Regions from separate parts of the Homo sapiens genome. Here region 1 is linked to region 2. The links are contacts of gene promoters, found by promoter capture Hi-C in blood cells and fetal thymus (Javierre and others, 2016). All regions are on one chromosome and are shown on one strand. Each heading gives the region's core, a stretch centred on a gene start or on the middle of the fragment in contact. The rest is flanking DNA. Distances are from core to core; before and after follow the strand shown. Region 1 overlaps LY6E-DT (LY6E divergent transcript). Region 2 holds the start of SLURP1 (secreted LY6/PLAUR domain containing 1).

The links. The method cuts DNA at HindIII sites, captures the fragments that hold promoters and counts their contacts. A CHiCAGO score of 5 or more calls a contact.
Region 1: a fragment that was not itself captured here is called in contact with the fragment with the promoter of SLURP1 in region 2 in 2 of 17 cell types (total CD8 T cells and naive CD8 T cells); the score reaches 7.5 in total CD8 T cells.

The regions. Positions count from the first base shown.
Region 1 is chr8:142,984,071-142,990,797 of GRCh38, reverse strand. All of the region lies in intron 1 of LY6E-DT (LY6E divergent transcript), which reads left to right. Among named protein-coding and RNA genes, the nearest start is that of LY6E-DT, 31 kb to the left of the region's middle. RefSeq lists an enhancer at 1,561-2,062. The HindIII fragment of the contact is 2,620 bases long and covers 904-3,523 here.
Region 2 is chr8:142,737,764-142,744,343 of GRCh38, reverse strand. It overlaps SLURP1 (secreted LY6/PLAUR domain containing 1), which reads left to right and starts at 1,938. Exons shown (of 3, transcript NM_020427.3): 1 at 1,938-2,016; 2 at 2,422-2,541; 3 at 3,068-3,395. The coding sequence starts at 1,959. The coding sequence ends at 3,201. RefSeq lists silencers at 4,741-4,820, 4,861-5,140 and an enhancer at 5,389-5,955. The HindIII fragment of the contact is 7,810 bases long and covers 1-6,285 here.

The DNA of each region.
Region 1 (6,727 bases), core at 964-3,463, 250 kb before region 2:
GCCCATGTAGGTTATGAGACTGGAACCACATATTCCAAACACGGGTTTCACGAGGCCAGGCCCAGTGCACTGTGAACCCATCCTTACACACACACACACACACACACACACACACACCACAAATGCATACCTACCAAACGCATAGACACACAACACAAATGCACACCTACCAAACACACACACGCACACCTACCACACACCCATACACCCACATTGCACACACATGCACACCTACCACACCCCCACACACATGCACCCCTACCACACACCTACACACCACACACATGCACACCTACCACACACACACCACACACATGCACACCTACCACACCCACACACACCACACACATGCACACCTACCACACACCCACACATTCACACCACACACATGCACACCTACCACACACACACACCACACACATGCACACCTACCACACACCTACACACACCACACACATGCACACCTACCACACCCACACACACGCACACCTACCACACCCACACACCACACACATGCACACCTACCACACCCACACACCACACACATGCACACCTACCACACACCCCCACACATATGCACACCTATCACACCCACACACCCACACCACACAGATGCACACCTACCACACACCCACACACCACACACATGCACACCTACCTCACACCCCCACACACACCACACACATGCACACCTACCTCACACCCACATACACACCATACATAAACGTGCACGCCCATCATACCCACACACTGACACACACATTTGTGCACGGGCACACCACGCACACCACAGCACATCACATGCATGCATGTGTACACACGCTCCCCCCATGCATGGACGTGCTGTGAGCCTGGGAGCCAGGCTCTTGGTGCACTGTGTCAGGGGTGTGTAAAATGAAAGCTTTTTGAATTAGACACACAGGTGGCCATTCCAGAGCCCTCCTGTGCACATGTCATGTCGCGTTCAGTCACTTAGCGCTGTGGACGTCCCAGCTCAGAGACGGCAAGGAGCCCTGCATGGGTTCGCCCGCGACGGCGTGCTGGCTTGGTTGAGACTCAGAGGCTGGGATGTCCAGAGGCGGCCCCACTACATCCATTCTGCCCTCTGTGGGCACACCTTGCTCTCCCGCAGAGACTAGAAAGCCAAACACGTTTCCCAAACTCCTTTCAGCAGAGTGTCTGGAAGTGGCTTCGGTGCTGTCGAGCGATGCTAGGTTTATGGTTTGGAAGGAGGGCGCTCCTGTCTCTGTCGGCGTGCGACACATCCCCAACTTACAGCTGAAAACAGCCATCTTATTTTGGTCATATTTTAGGGTGAGGAATTCGGGGAGGGGTCTTTGGGGCAATTCTTTCCTGAGTCTGTCATATGAGTGTGTTCAGAAGTCACTGGGCTGTGAGTCCAAGATGGGACACCCATGAGGCTGGAGCTCTGGCGGGGCTGTTGCCTGGACGCCACACATGGTGTCTGCAGAGTGGCGCTCACAGGGTGCTGGGCTTTTCCGCATGGGGCTGGTCTCCTCTCGTGGAGCCTCCGAAGATGTCAGGTGGGAGCTGCAGGGCGTTTCTGACGTGGCCGCAGGAGCCCTGTGCCTCCACTCCCTTCTCAGACCTCACCTCTCCGTGGGACAGCCCCACAGAACTTGCAGAGCTGTTAAAGGCTGTTGCAGAGGGAGGTGGCACCCTGGGGGCCGCAGCAGCCCGGGGAGTGTGGCTCCCCCGCAGGCGTGGAGACTGGGCTCTAGGTGTTTCTGGGGCAACTCAAGCGGAGATTCTGGAGACGCTCACATCTGCTGGAATGCAGGCTTTTCGTTCGTAGAAACAGCAAGCGGCCATGAGTGTGATTAATTGGGAATTGGAGGTGAGTAGAGGGTTTCACGGTCTCCTAAACCAACCTGAGGAAACAGGTGGTCATTGTTGGCATTTAACTGTGAGTATTTCCAAAGCCCGCCGTAGATTGAAACTCACTGCCGTAGCTGTGCAGGGTGTGGACAGGATGGGGATGGGGGTTGGTCTCAGTAGGGAGGCAGGGTCCCCGTTTTTACTAACATCAGATTTACAGGATCAGCTCGACAAACAGACTGCTTTTTTCTGGCTGGCTGAAAATAAATGGGAGAGAGAAAATAAAACAATACTGGTGCATTAGTTATCTATTGTCACATTAAAAGAATTGCTCTGAAACTTAGAGGTTTACAACGTCAAAAAGCATTTACGATCGCAGTTTCTGTGGGTTGTTCAGAAAAGCCTGCTGGGTGGCGCTCTGTGGCGAGCAGGTCTATGCCACTTACCCACAAAGGCTGAGGGAGCTGAGAGGCTGAAGAAAAAGGCCGACAAATCCTGTTTCTCAGAAAGAAACATTCAACAGTGCGATGGGAGCAGAAGCCACGGTGCGGGCGGCCGCGAGATCCATGCATTGCTACCCGCGGACCCAGGGCTTAGGTAGCAGAGGGAAAGGGAGCGGGAGCTTCAGAAGGATGTGTAAGACAACTGGCCTACCCCTCAGGAAGAAGCAAGAATGCCGCCTGCTGGTCCACCCTCAGGAGAAGGCAAGAATGCCACCTGCACCGCAGCCTGTAACTCGCTTAAGGGCAGGATTTTGTGTTTACAATAACATTAAGGTTGTTTTGACCTAAGGACCCAGAACTAGGGTTCATCGGAAGTCCACATGGCGGGTCAGCATCCAAGATGGAGTCATTTTAGCCTTCGCCACAGGTGGTTCCGGCTGCGTGAGGCTAGATGTTGTCTGGGGTGAAGTGGTCCGAAGGCTCGGCTAGGGCTGGAGGACCCATCTCCTAGATGGTGCACTGTGCTGCCGGCAGGCAGATGCTGCCCTTTGGCGGGAGGCCTTGGATTCTTGGCACGTGGTCATCTCTGCACGTCTTCGCTGAGTGTCCTCATGGGTGGCCTCTTCCTCCACGCAGGGATCCCAGAGAGCACAGCGGAGGCTGCAGTGTTCTTTGCAGCCTCATGTCTGAAGTCACACAGTGTCACTCTGCCACATTCCATGTGTGGGGTGTGAGCCTCTAAGGCTGATTCTGCCTTTAGAAAGGAGGGGTATCAAAGACGTCGGAACATATTTCAACAAAGACATGACTATAAAAAATAAAATGATTAAGTGAATTATATCATATGTATAATTTTATGGCAAGAAATGTGAAAATTGAGAGGAAATACATTACCAGAATAAGTGGAAAACTTGGGTAAATCAAAAAAGGAAGAAATTGGCAAGTCCATTTAACATTTGTTAGTGCAAAATGTGCCAACACCAAATGGTTTTAAAGCTGACTTCTTCCTCATTGGTAAGGAACAAGTTCTTCTAGTATTTTAAAAAATATTCCAGAAAATAGAAAAAGGTGAAAATTTTTCCAATTCATATTATATAGCTAATGTAACTTCGTATCAAATTTTGATATAGTATGAGAAAAATATTCCAATTTATTTTGTAAAATGGACGCAAAAATCCAAATAAAATATCATAAATTTGTACACAGTCATTTATTAAGGAACAGCACACCATAGTCAAGCTTTGATTGCATACATGTAACAGTGACTTGATATTAGGAAGCAGAATATAATACATTACATCAGTACACTAAAGTACACAAATCATGTAATTATGTTGTAATTAGTGAAAAAAGTACTTGACGAAATTTAGCAGTCATTTCTCATAAAATCTTCTATTTAAAATAAAAGGGGGCCGGGTGTGGTGGCTCACGCCTGTAATCCCAGCACTTTGAGAGGCCAAGGTGGGCAGATCACTTGAAGTCAGGAATTTGAGACCAGCCTGGCCAACATGATGAAACCCATCACTACTAAAAATACAAGAATACAAAAATTAGCCGGGCGTGGAAGCACATGCCTTCAGTCCCAGCTACTCGGGAGGCTGAGGCAGGACAATCGCTTGAACCTGGGAGGCAGAGGTTCCAGTGAGCCGAGATCACGCCACTGCATTCCAGCCTGGGCGACAGAGTGAGATTCTGTCTCAAAAAAATAAAGTAAAATAAAATATGGAATTTAAATAATGCACCTACAAATCACACCTACTTTTTCAAAAAGGACAGATAACATATTAATTGATGAAATATTAGTGATCAGCATTAAAGCTGCGAAAAAGTCAGGGATGCCTGTCTCACTGCTACCCCTCAACCTGCATTTGGGGATCCTCATGGCAGATGAAGGCAGGCAGATGCAGTAGAGATTGTGCACGGTAGGCCAGAAGTGCTGACATTCTCCCCTCCCTGCAGAAGACAGGGATGCCCATCGAGAAGATCCAAAAGCTTCATTCATCTGATAACCTACAGAACCAATAAGATGCTTTGAGTAAGTGATTGAACATATAAAATTGCTTTTATGTACTGGCAACAACCAGTTATCATAGAAATTGAAATAATAACAATGAATTCTACATGTAACAGAGTCAAAAGCAACAAAATAATGCCTAAGAATATGTTTAATAGATGGCAAGATGACGAACCAGCACTGGCCACCGGCCCCTTGCCCCAGATCAACCCTGGGCAACGGCAGAAGGACACCCTGCCTAGCCCTCTTGGGGGTGGGGCTGGAGGCCAGGCTGGACACCCATTATATAGGATCTGAAAGTTCTTCTGAGGTAGGGCACGGCACACTGACACTCCAGAGATGAAAAGCAGAGCACTCTGTCACTTACAGCTCCAAACGAGGAAGGCGTCCAGGCAGGGCTGCATGAGGCACCCGGGGACAGGGTAGCAGACAGCTGGGGCTGCCGGGTGGCTGGTGTGTGGACAGCAGGTGGGGTGGCTGGGTTTCTGGGGCTCCCTGTGGATTGGCTAATTTGGGTGATTTTGAGCTCTGGGTCACAGGGCTGTCCCTGATAGTCTGGCCCTTGGCCCTGGGGCAGATTTGGACAAATGTGCAGTGGCCTGGAGTGTGAGGGGCCAATGAGGAGGTGGTTGGGTGTGGACTTAACTGGCTGCTCAAGGAGGGAACTGACCGGCCTCTAGGGCCTCAAAACTGGGTCAAGACAGCACATCAGTAATAATAAAACCCAAGATCACCCCACCAAGGCCAGGAGGGCAGGGTGTGTCCCAGAATGGAGGCGACTGGCCCCGGCACAGATGCACCTGCTGCCTGTGGGGTCAGGGTGTCTGCAGGCACTTCCCGATATCCACCCCTTGGATCTCTGGGTCTCACCTCCAGGGACCCAGCCTTGGTGCACAGACCTGCCTTGGCTGAGCATTAGAGCTTCCTGGGCTCGCACTCTGTTGTGTTCTGACTGCCCCACAGCTTTGCCCATCCTCTGCAGGGGCCCATGCCTTCACACTTGTCCTGACGCTTATGCACCTCCTGGTGTTCTCATTATCCCCTGTAGGGTTAGTGTGACTTGATGACGGCTAGCGCATGGCTGTCCCTATAGGCATTTGCCCCCAAGACCCTCCAGGCCGCTTAACCATCACATGGGCTAAAGCATAGTCCTTCCCGGGGTGCTTGCTCAGGCCACCGCCAGTGAACCCTCCGTGACCAGCCCCTGCCTTGAGCCAGGGACCATCCAGGTCCCACCTTCCACTCCAGGTGGCCCTCCCTTGCCAGGCAGGCCATGGCTGGCTGGTCTCAAAATCCCACTTGCTGTCTGCTTTCTCCCTTCCCTTTCCTCCCCCTCCCCTTTTTTTTGAGATGAAGGCTCGCTCTTGTGCCCCAGGCTGGAGTGCAATGGCACGATCTCCACTCACTGCAACCTCCGCCTCCCTGGTTCAAGCGATTCTCCTGCCTCAGCCTCCCGAGTATCTGGAATTATAGGTGCTTGCCACCACGCCTGGCTAATTTTTGAATTTTTAATAGAGATGGGGTTTCACCACGTTGGCCAGGCTGGTCTTGAACTCCTGACCTCAGGTGATCCGCCCACCTCAGCCTCTGAAAGTGCTGGGATTACAGCCGTGAACCACCGCGCCCGGCCTTGCTGTCTGTTTTCTTGGCCCATGGCCTGCTAGGACCCAAGAAGGATGTTGCATAGAAAGAGTTTCCAACTTCAGCACAGTTCTAAAAAAGCCTCAGCCAGCCATCAGGTTGCCTTCAAGCCAAAGATGCCCACCAGAGGACTCTTGCCATGGGCAGGAAAACAGCCAGCTCGAGTACCCTCTCTTGCCCTGTCCTTGTCGGGAGCAGCTGGAGGAAGCCCCAGGTTCAGTCCAGCCAAGGAGGTTCCTCCTGCACCCTCTTGGAGAGAGGTCTTGTGGCCACACGCAGCCAGCAGGGAGCAGCTGTGAGCTGCAAGCATCAGGAATTCATGCCAGTCTTTGCTGCCTTTATCCCTTGCGTGTTAATGTACTTGTAAAATCTCTCCTAGGGAATGCAGCCAGTTCACCTCTCAGCATCCCAAGTGGGAAAGGAGAAAAATCAGCTGGCCTGTCCTCATCCCCGGTCCCTGGGGGATCTGGGGGATAAAGAATAGAGGAGCTGCCAATCCTAGAGAACACTGGCTGTCCCTGTGTCCCTTCTGAGATGGGAGAGGCCATGTGGGGTGAACTTACAGGCTTGGGCTTTTGAAACAATTCAAACGGTGAGGCCTCACCAGTAGAGGGCAGAGAAACTACGGCAAGTTCTGGATTTTACCTTGAGTACTGCTATTATTTATTTATTTATTTATTTACTGAGATGGAGTTTCGCTCTTGTTGCCCAGGCTGGAGTGCAATGGCGCAATCTTGGCTCACTGCAAACTCCGCCTCCCAGGTTCAAGCGATTCTCCTGCCTCAGCCTC
Region 2 (6,580 bases), core at 689-3,188:
TTCCCATTCATCCCCCATCCATCCATCCAATCCATCCCCCATCCATTCCATATTCATCCCCCACTCATCCATCTACCCATCCATCCATCTATCCATCCATCCATCTATCCATCCATCCCCCACCCATCCTCTATTCATCCCCTACCCATCCACCCATACATCCTCCACCCATTTCCTATCCATCCCCCATCCATCCACCCATCCATCCATCTATCCATCTACCCATCCAGCCATCTATCCATCCCCCACTCATCCTCCACTCATCCCCCACCCATCCACCCATACATCCTCCACCCATTCCCCATCCATCCCTCATCCATTCCATATTCATCCCCCACTCATCCATCCACCCATCCATCCACCCATCCATCCATCTATCCATCCATCCCCCACCCATCCTTCATTCATCCCTGACCCATCCACCCATACATCCTCCACCCATTTCCCATCCATCTCCCACCATCCACCCATCCATCCCATATTCATCCCCCACTCATCAGCTACCCATCCATCCACCCATCCATCCATCCACCCAACCATCCCCAACCCATCCTCCATTCATCCCCCACCCATCCACCCATCCATCCTCCACCCATTTCCCATCCATCCCCCATCCATCCAACCATCCATCCCCCATCCATCCCATATTCATCCCCCACTCATCCATCTACCCATCCATCCACCCATCCATCCATCCATCCACCTATCCATCCATCTATGCATCCATCCCCCACCCATCCTCCATTCATCCCCAACTTATCCACCCATACATCCTTCACCCATTTCCTATCCATCTCTTACCATCCATCCATCCATCCCATATTCATCCCCCACTAATCCATCTACCCATCCATCCACCCATCCACTCATGCATCCACCCATCCATCTCCCATTCATTTACCCATCCATCCCCCACCCATCTATCCATCCATCCCCTATCCATCGCCTATTCATCCCCCATTCATCCATCCCCCATCCATCCATCCATCAACTCATCCATCTATACAACCACCCATTGGGACATCACAGGACAGAGAAACCAGAGAGGCTGGTATACCTGGAAGGACTGTGGAGAGGGGCACCTTAGTGGGTCTCACAGCATGGGGAAGATGTGGGACATCAGATGGGAGACCAGGCAATGTGGTCATTGAGCGGTATGGCATAGGCAGGCATGCGTGTGGAACAGGGTGTCGTGGGGGGCACGCAGTAAAGAGCAGACAACACAGTCAGGCCAGGAGGCTGGAGGGTGAGCAGAACCTTATTGTCAGGCGCCTAAAATCAAGAAACTCAGGTTTGGTCTAAAGGCCATTAGTGGGAAGGGGCTGGCAGTGATGAGGGGCCACTCCTGGGCCCAACCTTGTCAGCCTGAGAGTGGTCTAGCTGGCCCATGCTACCCTCACCTGACACCTGCTTCCTACCTCTGGTTTCTACTTTGCAGGTGTGTATCAGGTGTACACAGACCAGGTAGAGGTCTGTGGAGAGGGCTGCAGGCCAGGCTGCAGGGAAGGGGTGCCAGGCGGGGCTAGAGCAACAAGGGCAGAGGCTACACTGAACCTGGGTCTTAAGGGTCCCCCAGGCTGGGGCTGGGTGGCCTATGTGAACCCCAGAGGCACAGCCAGGACATGGGGGCTCATCAGAGGGGCAGTCTGAGCTCAGCAGGAAAGGCCTTCTCTGTCAGAGCTGTCCCAGGACCACTGGACATGGCTGAGGAACAGTGAGTTCCCCAGTGTTGGAGGTGTGCAAGCAGAGGCCTGGCCATCGTCCTCAGACAGAGCTCCCAGATCCAGCTCCCTGCCCGTCTGCCATGTTCCTGCCAGCTGCCTCCCCACTGGGCCCTTTACCACGTTCCTGACTCACACGGCCGGTTCTGCCACCGCCCAGAAGCCGGTGCCCAAGGGCCTGGGTATAAATCCTTGATGTGAGGCTGGCTACCTCTCATCACTTCTGAGCACGGAGCAATGGCCTCTCGCTGGGCTGTGCAGCTGCTGCTCGTGGCAGCCTGGAGCATGGGCTGTGGTGAGTGGGCCGCAGGCTGGTGGGGACCCTGCCTCTGAGCTTGTCTGCCCACCTCCTAGGGGGATGGGGCTGTTGGGGGTGCTTTGTGGCTGAGAGCCTCCTTAGGCCTCCATGAGGCTCACCCTCCTCATTCTCAGTGAGCCTCCTGGGTCCCAGAGCCCAGCTTCACCCTGGGACAGGGGTCACGGCTCCACTCTGCAGGAAGGGAGACTGAGGCTTGGTGGAGGGATGCAGCATTCAAGTCTGTGGCTCAGCTCAGTTAGAGAAAGCTGCCAGAGAGGCCCCTTGAAGGGCTGCCCGGGGCCTTGAAAGATGTCAGCGAGACTCCTTCAGCCCCTGCCTCCTGGTTCCAGGATGAGGCCACCGAGGTCAGGTGATGAGGTTCTGCCCCCATCCCTCACCCAGGTGAGGCCCTCAAGTGCTACACCTGCAAGGAGCCCATGACCAGTGCTTCCTGCAGGACCATTACCCGCTGCAAGCCAGAGGACACAGCCTGCATGACCACGCTGGTGACGGTGGAGGCAGGTGAGGCCAGGCCCCACGGCAGCCCTGGGTGCACTGGAGTCAGGGCCACCTCCCCCAAGTGCCTCCCTCCTTTGCTGGTGCTCCTCCCGGCCCAAAAGGCAGCAGGTGGGATGGGCAGAACAGGCTGCCACACCTTGGCAGGGGTGCCTTCCACGAGGGTGGCACAGCCCCCTCAGAGACCCAGTCCTGGGGCACCAGGCGCTGGAGGTGGGTGGGGCTTAATGGCCGGGGTACCCTGGGGGGCTCAAACCCCAGCTCTGACACAGACCCACTGGGTGGTGTTGCCACAGCCTCTGGGCTCGGGCTCCCATCTCAGCGCAGGCACTTCAGAGGTCTGACAAGGCCTAATAATTCATGAACAGGTCACAGTCAGAGGAGGGCTGGGCCCTGGGTGGCTTCACAGATGTGGACTATTGGGAACAGGGATCACAGGGAGGGTGAGGTCAGGCGACGGCGGCTGGGAGCAGTGCAGCAGCAGGCAGGCGCTGCAGGGGAGTGAGGGTTCTGACACTGGCCCACCCTGCAGAGTACCCCTTCAACCAGAGCCCCGTGGTGACCCGCTCCTGCTCCAGCTCCTGTGTGGCCACCGACCCCGACAGCATCGGGGCCGCCCACCTGATCTTCTGCTGCTTCCGAGACCTCTGCAACTCGGAACTCTGAACCCAGGGCGGCAGGGCGGAAGGTGCTCCTCAGGCACCTCCTCTCTGACGGGGCCTGGCTCCACCTGTGATCACCTCCCCCTGCTTCCTGCTGCTGTGGCACAGCTCACTCATGGGGTCTGAGGGGAGAGAAGCACACCAGGGGCGCCCTCTGCCTTCCATACCCCACGCTTATAAAACATAACTAAGCCAAGAGTGGACATGACTTTTGTCCTTCCTGGGCACTGACACCCTACAGAACTGGCCTTCAGGAGAGCCAGGCTGAAGGACAGCACATTCTAGGCACCTGCTCCTCCCTCTCACCCAGAGCCTCTGTGACCCATTTCACAGATAGGAAAACAGAGACTTAGGGGAAGAAATGCCTCCTGGGCCCCTTTCCTGATGCAAACTAGCCTGGCATCTCAGACCAGGACCTGTACCCTAGCCCAGGGAACATCTCCCGCTAAGAATCTCCCCTGTAAACCCTGGAGACATCGCTCCCACCCTAGAGAGGGAAGGAAGCTCAGAGTTGGCATCCACTTTCCTCCAAGGGTGGATACATCTGGCTCTGCCTGCCCAGCCCAAGGGGTCTTCCTGGGTGTGTGCACCTGGGCCTGCTGGTACCACACAGCTCCACGGTTTCAGTCACCTCCTCTGACAACTGCCCACTGTCCCCTTGGGACAGCTGAGATTAGCGGAGGAGCCCCGGGTTCTCAGGACCCAGGAGACCTGACTTCCAGGCTCGCTTCCCCCTCTTCCTGGCCCTGGCTGTCCCATCACAGTCACAGTGCTCTGTGCCACTGTCACCCCTGTCGGCAGGTGGGCAGAGCCAACGGGGAGCACGGGCTGCTGTGGGCCTGAGCCACCCCTGGACACTGCCCCTCTCCAGGCCCCAGTCCCCTGGTGTCTCCTGGGCTGCACACCATCTAAGCGCTGCCCAGCTAGGTCTTGGGTTCTAAGGCCCCACACATCAGCTGGGTCACGCCCGTGGGGTCTTGTGGGCACCTGTGCCTGCTGGGGTGGGAGCGGTATGCAGCAGGCTGTGGTCAGACCAGCTGGGCATACCCGAGGAGCATGCGGGAGTAACCAGGGCAGTGGCGGGGGTCGCCTAGGACCCCTGTGAGAGCCCACCTCTGTCTATGAAGGGCCCAGATGTCAGAACCCACCCCCTACCTCTACGCCCTCCCAGAAATACCAGGAATTAAATGCTGTCCCTGGGGAGCAGCCCCGACCAGAGAAAGCTGCCAGAGAGGCCCCCTTGAAGGGCTACCCCGGGCCTCCCCGTTGGCCAGCACCGGGCCGGCGGCGTGGCTTCCGGTTAGGGCCCGTCCCCTGGGTCATGGCCGGACCTCCAAGGGCCTCACCCGGGCCTCGATTGGAGCCAAGGGGGCAGGGCCTTGGCCTCACCAGGGGGACGGAGCAAGAAGTCGCCGCATCTCTGGCAGCGTCCCCAGCGGCACAATGGGGATGAGGCCTCCAGGCTCTTTGGGAGCGCAGTGGTGAAGGCTCAGCAGGTGCCCCTATCCCTGGGAGGGCACCTGCGAGGGGCCCCCGATGCTGAGCCCGCACGGCCAGCAGAGGGCGCGCGCCCGAGTCCCGGAACCCGCGCCAGGAAGACTCGTCCCAGAGCGCGCACCGCGAGCACGCGGCGACCCTGTGCGCTCTGCCCGGAACCTGCACTGCGCGCGCAGCTGGGCCGCCTGGACCGTAGGGGTCCGCAGCACAGAGTTCAGAGAGCCCTGGCCCTCTCGGCCGGCCTGGAGGACGCCCACCTGCCCTGCCTGTCGCCGCGACCCTCCCAGGAAATGCGTGGGGAGGCCACGGCCAGGGAGGGACCTCGGGAGGGCGCGCCCACGGGGTGGGGCTCGCGGAGGCCAGGCGCTCACCACCCGGGCGCGCGGGGTCTAGGGAGGTGAGTGGGCGTCGCATCCGTGACCGTCGCAGGACGTGGGTAAAGCTGGCGGGGAAGCAGCCAGCCGCCAAGAGGTGGCGGTGGAGGGGAGGGAGAAGGGCGCCCACCCGTGCCGCTAGGCCCTACTGCGCGGAGGGGAAGCAGAGGCCCTTCTGAACCCCACTACCGCGGAGAGGTCAGACCAGCCAGCGCTAGTCTTCCGCAGCTTTAAGAAATCTCTAAAGGAGAGGGGTGTGCAGACCGCAGGGCGTCCCTCCCCGCCCTCAGGAGCAAGACCCTCCACCTCCCCAAGGGTGCCCCCAACTCGCAGGTGTCCAGAGGGGAAGTCATGCGGGGAGCGGCGGCCTGGGCCTGGGACGAATCAGCCCCTTTGGCCTGCCTCGTTGAGCCCCTGGCGGCCATACTGGGAATTCCCTGCCCTAGTCTGTTTCCCTATCCATGAGGTGGGCGATGGTCCTGCTGTCCCAGAATTCCGGACACCAGGCACAGTAGAACTCCACTCAGCAAGGCCTCAGATGTGGGGATCTGTGTCCCTGGGCCCTGAGGGGACACAACAGTGGCCAGTCAGCTGACTGAGCCCAGAGGCGGTGGCTGGATGCTGAGACTGAGCAGGCAACTGACCTAGGGTGAGCCCCGGGGACACCCACCAAAGCAGTCGTGACTCTGTCCACCTGGCCATCAGAGGGCACAGTGCCTCCTCCCCCAGGACGACGGACCCATGCACAGCCACCACCCCAGGACCTCCGGACACACTCCCATACCCTGTACCTGTCCCTTCTTCACCAGCATCCACCAAGGGCTTCCTGGGCCCGACACCTGGACACTGTGCAGACACCTCCGGGGGTGGGGGCGGCTGGGGCAGAAATTCTGCAGCTGTTGGCCTTGGGGGAAGGACGCGGGCCGAAGCAGTTGCTGCCCTCTAACTTCTCCGAGTGGCAGGCTCACAGGAGCAGAGTGGGCTCCAGTGGCTCCGCCAGGACAAGGCACTGGTTCACTTCCAATCCCAGCCACCCATTCCCTGACCCGGGCCAGTCCTGTCGTCAGCCCGTCCTCCAAAAACAAGACCAAGAGAGGGCCCTGCTGGCTCAAACCTTCCTCTGAGCCAGCCTATGACAGCCCAGGGTGTTCAGCTTCTGCATGGAGAGAGAAGCCCCAGAGGCTTGCGGGTGCTGCCCATTCAACCACCTTGAAGCTTGCCCGTTGCCTGCGTGCACGTGCGCACACACACACACACACACACAAATGCACACAGGCACGCACATCCATATGCGCACTGGATACACTCATTCCTAGTCCAGTCACTGAGCCCTACTCCCTATCCAGGCCAATGTGCCTTCCACGACCCAGAGGTAGCTGCTGAGCCAGGGACCGCAGTGGCATCATCACATGGTGCCCTCCCAAGGCCCAGGCACCCTGTCCTGTGGCCCCCGCCCTGCTCCAGGGCTCAGGCAGATGGTCAGGACCATCAGCTGGACGGCATCCCTACAGC